2 separate regions of the Homo sapiens genome follow, and region 1 is linked to region 2. Evidence: promoter capture Hi-C in 16 types of primary human blood cells and fetal thymus (Javierre and others, 2016). All regions are on one chromosome and are shown on one strand. The core of a region is centred on a gene start or on the middle of the fragment in contact, and the rest is flanking DNA. Distances in the headings are between cores, read along the strand shown.

Region 1 (4,104 bases), core at 91-2,590, 1.0 Mb after region 2:
CATTTTATCCTATACGGAAAGAAGTCAATGTTCAGTAAGTCCTAGTTCGTCATCTAAAATGTCTTCCATTCATTTATATATATTATTCCATTCATTTATATATATCCATTCATTTATATATATTATTCCATTCATTTATGTATATCCACAGGTGCATTCATTCACTTCTATATTGCCCGTGGCTGCTTTCACTCTACACTCTTCACTAACCACTATGGTGCTAGTCCTGTTGTTTACAACAGGGCTAAACAACAGGTGCTGATATGAGATATATGTTAACAGATAAGTCCCTGAGCTACAAAAGAGATAGTCTAATATCACTAATCCCTCTTATTTTCCACAGCAGGAATTCTATCCAACCATACCATAATGGGAAGTGGCTACCAATCCCGCTCAGAGGTTTTCCAGATAAAGACCCGTGATCTACCAAATATTCTAACTTTTCCTCTAACTCTTCTGCCTATCTGAAGGACTACATTCAGTTTTCCCGTTCATTCATACACCCCTATAACTTTTCATAAACATCTTATTAGAGAAGGAATTACCTCCCTGTACTGTTTCATCCAAAGTCACAATCTATACGTTGATAGTGAGTGTCTAGAAACAACCTGAATTAGTAGTCAGGGTATTCTGCCTCTTCCTGATAAATTAGTTTATGCCATTTCTCCTCCAAACTGGGTGTTTTCCTTTGTTTCTGTTCTTAATTCAGTGAGGTTTTTCATACTACCTTTCATTGAGGGCTCACTATGTTCAGCATTGTTCTAAATACTTTATATACATCATCTAATTTAATCCTCACAACAACCCTTGAGAAAGGTAAAATTATGTCCATTTACAGATGAGAAAAAATAAGGTTTAGAGAGATTGAATAATTTACACAAATTAGTTTCTCCAAATAGATAATTATAGAGCTACAATCTGAATGAAGGTCCACCTGACTCCAAAGACAATAATCCTAAGCACTAGGGCATACTTGCCTCTTTCTGCACCCCAATTATGTCATAACGTATATTAGAGAACATTCCTGATGTCCTGGAATTTGCAGATTTCCCAGTTGTGATCTCTACCTTCAACTGAATCATGCATAGAAAGTTGAACAGGATAGAATAGGGCCCACCAAGAGTTGTTCTCCACTATTCTGACTCTCCACTCTCTTCAGGAAAAGGTTGGCAAACTAGGATCTGCTGGCCAAATCAAGCCCATTGCCTGTTATTGTAAATAAAGATTTATTGGAACACAGGTGTATTCACTCATTTATATATTGCCTGTGGTTGCTTTCACTCTACAACATCAGAGTTAGCAGTTGAAGCAGATACTGTATAGTTCATAAAATCTACGATATTTACTATCTAGTCCTTTAGAGAAAAAGTTTGCCTACCTCCACCACTAGAACAACTCTGATGTCAAATACATTTTAACAGGTTTCATTTATGGAGTTTTGCTCTTGTATGCAATATATACACTTCTTAGGAATATGAGCATAAGTACTTGGGACTGGAAATGGCATATTATACATGGGTATATACGAGTTCTAGTCCCTCTGCCTCATTTTAGCAAGGGGGTGATGGAAGAGAAAAGAAGATCACAGGCAGACCTGGTTTCAAATTCCAGGACATGGCTGTCAAGTGGTGGTGATGACACCTGGATTACAGTGCTTTGAATGTGAGAGACAAAGTTTATAGAGCTCTGGCACAATACTTGACACACAGAAGCATAGGAGATGTTTTCAGATGGAAGAAACTGAGGCTATGTTAGATCTTGACGCTTGCCAGAACAAGAATTTAGGTTTAGGTTTCCTAAGTCCTAAGTACCTTTTTTCCTCCATGATGCCACATTTAACCTTATTTAACAAGCATATGGACTACAGAGATGGATAGAAATTGGCATTGTTCATAGCATCATTTAGCCCATTACTGACAAGGGACATTATGGGTCTGGTTACACAATCTGCTCACAGTACGTAAAGCAATCTGCTTTCCAGCACCGGCTTCCAGCACTTGGAACTGGGTTAGAAGACACAGGCCTGTGAGAATCCAGACTCCTGACCTGTAGACCCCTGCTGCTCTCTCTCCACCCAGGGCACTCGAGCAACCACTGCCCAAATGCTCACCTTGGGAAGATTCACCTGATAACCCAGGCAATAGGTTACCCAGGCCCTTCACTGCTCCTGAGACTTGGGGTCAAAGCATCATTTTAACTCTACAAAGGCAGAATATTGTGGAAAGAAAAGCCACCAAGCCTAATCAAGCAACAAAGGGCATGTGGAAGGAGCATGGTGGCAGAGGCTTTAACATCCTGCATAGGAGTGGAAGTCCTCTGGAAAGAGGGTTGATCAGCCTGCAGACACAAAGCCTGAGAAAGGAAATGATGTAATGCTCACAAATCTGAAAGGTGCTTATGGATACAAAGAAATAGGCTTCGACGTGGCTTCAGAGGCAAAAGAAGCACTGATGAATCAGATTTGTAAAAACAGAAGTTTGTAACAGCTATATCTTATTTAAAAACAGAATATGCTGGCTGAGGAGGTAGTGAGTTCCCCATTTTTGAGTAAGTTGAAGCAGACACCAGTTTCCATCCTGCCAGCTAACATAATAGTGATTCCAACAATGTGGGATTGGACTCGTAAAGCTGTAAAATACATTTGAATTCATGGATTGATGCTTCTCATGCTCCTTAATATATTAATTTTCTTTTTTGGATTTAAGTTGCCTATACATAATTCCAACAATTATCTTTCTAATTAATTAATTGACTTTCAGCACTTCAAGACGTTAAACTTTGATTTAATCTTCTCTATTCTGTATACTGTCCAAACGTGTTCACTGCAAACATCTGATGAGTGACACATTTTGATTTGGTAAGACTTGAATCAAAAATGAAAAAACACATTTTAAAAAATGAAGCTTTTTTCTAATAGCATAGAGCTGTATTTATTCTGATTCTTAATCTTATTGACTGCATTTTTTCCACCAAACTATCAGACCACCCAAATCAATTCCTCTCTTTATTTTGAATTTACTGTTTTTTGAAATATGTATGTGGTTTTGAAATTCCCCTGGGATCTTATGGTATGAGGTGTTGTGTGCGTATGTGTGTGTTTAAGGTGTCTCCTTTATAGCTTGATAATTATGTTTGGAGTAAGTGCAGCATACGGACTTACCCCCATCACACACTCAATGCTTTAAAAGCCCTTGGAGGGCTGGGGATTGTAGGGAAAGCTGCCTTGGTTGGGCAGAAAGCCACATGGCTGCACATTTCTCACAGACCTCCTGTTCCATGTTACTTCCTCTATCTTTCTGTTGCCAAACCACCACAGTTCAGCTAATTCCTCCTCGAGCAGCGTCTCACCCAGTGCTGCAATTATAGTGGAGACAGAAATGGAGTTAGAAATGAAGTAACAAGGAGGCAAAGAGAGGAGGCTACTATGATTCATCCCGAAAGCATCTGGAGTCATTAAAAAATATATACGTTGTCCAGTAATCACTCATTTTATCCACTAACTAAAAAAAAAAGAAAGGAGGAAGAAATGAAAATTAGGTGTTTCGAAAAACCCTGCCTCTCTTGGTCTCTTCCCAAGGAAGCAGCTTGCTTAAGGGGGCATGTATATGTTCCAAGCAGAATGCCAAACCTGTCATCATAAATAATCCCAAGGTATTATTTAGAACAGCCATGAGCCAAGCCAAGGAAGAGACTAGGGATTGTTAACAATGTCTTGTTTTTACACTTTATGATTAATACACATGATCTATTAAGCTTTTCCTAAAATGAAATCCCTTAGACATCAGTACTTTAAAGCATGCTTGAGGCAATATTTGGGCACTTGTCTTATGACTTGGAATTTTCCAGGAGAAAAAAAGGAGGAAAACCATGACATCAGAGCCCAAGAATTTTTGCTCACAACTCAATTTTATGGGAAGTTGCCTATTCTGCTTTCTAGTAGTCACTCAACACTAAATTTCACACAATTCCTTTGAAACCAGCTTCTCCTGACTGCCACATGCCTACTAATGACATCCTTCTTCCCCCTTCAGAATTCCAGTCTTATCCATTTTAACTTTTTTAAAATGCTCTTCCACTTCTGCAATTCCAACCACAACCCCCTAC
Region 2 (4,179 bases), core at 685-3,184:
TCCCAAGTAGCTGGAATTACAGGCGCCCACCACCATGCCCGGCTAATTTTCATATTGTTAGTAGAGACGGGGTTTCACCATGTTGGCCAGGCTGATCTCGAACTCCTGATCTCAAGTGATCCGCCTGCCTCAGCCTCCCAAAGTGTTGGGATTACAGGCGTGAGCCACTGCGCCTGGCCTGAGCCACCGTGCCCGGGTGTTTAATAATACTTTTAATTCTTAAATGTTTGGAACAAAAAAAAGAAGAAAATGAGATTATATGATTCACATGGTACTGCTCTAGTCCTGCAGCAAATTCCAGTGCCTTCTCTGATCAGGGAATTTTTACAAAATCAAATGTGATTGATACATCTTCATCCACACTGACAGGCACCCACAGAACATCCACTGAGACCTAGACAGTAGTACTGACTGCAGGCCCTAACCCTGGGATACAACACGAACATGGTCTTGTCCTAAACAGCTGATAGGAGAAAGACAGTATTCACTGTGTTAATCTCAGTCCAAATTAATTGTCTTCATCTAGCTCCTGTCTTACATTCTTCATTGCTTGTCCCTAAATCCTAGCACGGCCAAGTCCTTTAGTTTTAAGCCTACATGAAAGGCATCCAGGGAGAGCCAGGTGGAAATGAAGGTGGTGGGGCTTGGCCTTTCTTCCCATTCCCACCTTGAGAATTTGCACCTTTCCTTCTCTGTCACCAACTAGCAGTTGCCATGGTATATAAGGGTATATCTTATTTTATCCTTAATATGTTTATTTCTGCTTCCAAGATGCTTCTGTTTTTACTAAAACCATAGAAGCTTCCCCTCCCACCACACTCGCACCACACACAAAAAGCAGTTGGAAAAACATTTCAATGATTCCTAACCACAACAGCACTTCTGACTAACTACAAAGAAGGAAGCTTTGGAGAAACATAGAGGGAAACTACAGTCCCAGCGAGACCGAAACCGGAGGGGTGAGATAGCCAGTCACAGTAAAAGCTGGAACCAGAGCCCAGACTTCCTCAACTCCAGCCCAGTCCTTTTGCCACTGGGGAAACGCTGTTTACATGTCCTCACCTGCGACGAACAACATTTGATAACTCACAAAATTAACACCTTTCAGGGAGAGCGGGGCACTGGCCAGGTCCCTCTGATAATGAATTGCTGCTCTAAGACATAACTGCTGTGGGGAGGAGGTTGGTGTTTGGCGGGGAAGGGCTGCTAGCCTGCAGTTTCATAAGGACAATAATACATCAAAAAGGACAATCATAGATCAAAGGGGATATTTTGGGTCAACTTGATATGTAGTGGAAAGCAGATTGGGAGGGGAGCCAAGTACTGGATATGCTCCGTGCGTGAGTGTGTCTGTGTGTGTGTGTGTGTGTGTGTGTAAATCATGTTGCTCTCTGGGTCTGTTTCCCAATCTGTAGAGTGTAAAAGTCTCTGAGGCTCCTTGCAGAGACAAGTGATGGAACGACCTTGACAGAAGAGAGCAGAGAGAGGAAAGAAGGGGGAGGAAGCCAAGCAAAGGAGAGAGAAATGGTGTGATGGGGGAGGAGACGCGGAGTTGGGTAGAAATGCCTTTTAATAAGATATTGGGAAAAAAGTATTAAACCTAAAACTGCAGCTCTTGAAGGATCATTTTTTCATCTTTGTGTTAGGATTTACAAGTACAGTGCATAGTAATTTTTGGATAATTGGAGTGAATGAATGAAAAGCGTGAAACGCCTTACAGGAGCGAGAAGATCCACGAGAGAAAGCGAGCAGGGACGCAGCTCTGGTGCCTGGTCCTGCCGGGTGGTCCCCACGCCGCCAGCCGCGCGTTCCCCAACCGGGCGCTCCCGGCGCCCTCTCGGTGAGCCGCCCTGAAACCGCCAGGGGGCGCTCCCCGGCTGCCGGGGCTGAGGCGGGCGGAGCTGCTTTAAATCGCGGCGCCCAGCGGTTCTGCGTCTCAGTTCCCGAGCCTGGGAGCAACCGCAGCTTCTAGTATCCAGACTCCAGCGCCGCCCCGGGCGCGGACCCCAACCCCGACCCAGAGCTTCTCCAGCGGCGGCGCAGCGAGCAGGGCTCCCCGCCTTAACTTCCTCCGCGGGGCCCAGCCACCTTCGGGAGTCCGGGTTGCCCACCTGCAAACTCTCCGCCTTCTGCACCTGCCACCCCTGAGCCAGCGCGGGCGCCCGAGCGAGTCATGGCCAACGCGGGGCTGCAGCTGTTGGGCTTCATTCTCGCCTTCCTGGGATGGATCGGCGCCATCGTCAGCACTGCCCTGCCCCAGTGGAGGATTTACTCCTATGCCGGCGACAACATCGTGACCGCCCAGGCCATGTACGAGGGGCTGTGGATGTCCTGCGTGTCGCAGAGCACCGGGCAGATCCAGTGCAAAGTCTTTGACTCCTTGCTGAATCTGAGCAGTGAGTGCACCCCCACCTCACAGCGGCCGTCCAGAGGCCCCAGTCCCCCTGCAGCTCCCTTATGGGCTCATTCTGTTGTGTGATTCCATGGTTATCAGTCTTCAGTTGATCAAGTCTTCTGATCATGTGCTCTGTCATAAGGAAATGAAGAGAATCCTGGTTTGAGGAAAGCGACGCCCAGGCATAAGCTCTAGTTTTGCCTCTAACTCCCTGGGTGACACTTCTGCCACTCTAGGTGTGGCTTCATCCTAAATTCCTATGCTGGTGGTTCGAGTTGAGGGAGTGAAGGCCAAACTTGAACTTGAGCTCTTAGACCTCTCCTAGGCATTCCGAGATTTGGGGTAAATTGAGGATTGGTAGAGTTCAGACAAGAAAATGGGATGACTGAAAAAGTTTGAAGCCTGGTAACTTCTCAAGTGTGCACGCTTAAATAAATAATCCTCAAGTATTAGATATAACTTTTTAACCTTTAATATGATTTTTTCATAGTAAAAGTTACATTCCTACTGGAAATGTCCTATCTAAGTGTCTTCTGCTTATGCTTGAGGTTGATTCTTTTAATTTATAAGATCCAGTTAGTGCAGGGAGGCCCCTTGCAAGACTCTTTGGAGAAGCTGCTTGAGATTCCCCCGAAGTTTTAATTTTCAGACCCAAGGTCTTCTGTAGAGGCTGACGGTGTAGTGCTATCTTGGAAAGAGAAGGTTGGTGGCAGGTGGGGAAAGGCTGACAAGAAAGGTTCTAAATAACCTGCGCAACATAATACAAAGAAAAAAGTAAAGGCACTGAAGGGAAATGCAGCAAAATAGTCATAGCTGATGAAATCAGAGGTCAGCTGGGAGTGGAAGGCAGTGAGAGAGAAAGAAGAGGTGGGTCTTCCTTAGGTTTCCATCTTCCACAAAGAAATTTCTGTGTAATGGATGTTCAGTGACCCCCTGTAAAACTGGAAAGGATTGTATAGAGAGACATATTTCTAAGGATGGTGGGAAGAAGGATAATAGGATAATTGTTTTACTTTGTTTTTTAAATTAAAGGTTTCGAGTTCCTTGTCCGAAAAGTCATTAAATTCCCATTTACTTAGATAATAATGATTCACGGCTGGAGTATCTTCCTTGAGAAATCACATTAATTGTCTTATATCATGTGTCTGTTATGCCCTTTAACTCACTTGAAGAAAAGATCCCTTAGTCTTTGCCTAGATGAACGTGACTGCCCACTGGCCCCCATTGCATGCTAAGGGTGAAAAGTGTTGGCATTGTTCAAGTTTACTTAACTTGTTTTGTCTACCTCCTATCAAGGGACAACTTTTAATAGTGTATATCAAAAGCCATATAGTTTAGAGTTATTAAACCTGTTCCAAATCTGTTTGAACACCTTGAATACCTGTGGCATTTGCTCAGTCAATGTGCATGGTTGTTTTGAGTGTTATTATTTCAGCTTTTGAAGGTTCTCATATCAGGACTTCTTTACACCAAAACCAATCCATAAGTTTAGTAATTATGTGTTGCTCATTGCCCTCAGGGGTTATATTTGTACTTATAAAATGAAAAATTTGGTAATAATTATTGAATTTCTCCATGGAAAGATAAATATATTTAAGGAAACGGTGTCAGGCATTTTAGGTACCACGTTAAGGAATTGGCAGGTGGAGGTTTCTAAGGACAATTCCAGAGAGGTCTCACTGTCAGTTTTATTCCTCTGATCAAAATAGTTCCTTTTCAACATCTTTAAATAGGTTTTCTTTTAACTTCCTGAAATGACCAAATGAAATCAGATTGATCTATGT

The links. The method cuts DNA at HindIII sites, captures the fragments that hold promoters and counts their contacts. A CHiCAGO score of 5 or more calls a contact.
Region 1: a contact is called between a fragment that was not itself captured here and the fragment with the promoter of CLDN1 in region 2, in 1 of 17 cell types (fetal thymus). The highest score is 5.0, in fetal thymus.

What each region holds. Positions count from the first base shown.
Region 1 is chr3:189,276,290-189,280,393 of GRCh38, reverse strand. All of the region lies in intron 4 of TPRG1 (tumor protein p63 regulated 1), which reads right to left. Among named protein-coding and RNA genes, the nearest start is that of TPRG1-AS2, 38 kb to the right of the region's middle. The HindIII fragment of the contact is 3,131 bases long and covers 1-2,905 here.
Region 2 is chr3:190,320,201-190,324,379 of GRCh38, reverse strand. It overlaps CLDN1 (claudin 1), which reads left to right and starts at 1,934. Exons shown (of 4, transcript NM_021101.5): 1 at 1,934-2,396. The coding sequence starts at 2,174. It also overlaps a transcript of CLDN16 not described here. RefSeq lists a silencer at 1,784-1,943. The HindIII fragment of the contact is 3,794 bases long and covers 908-4,179 here.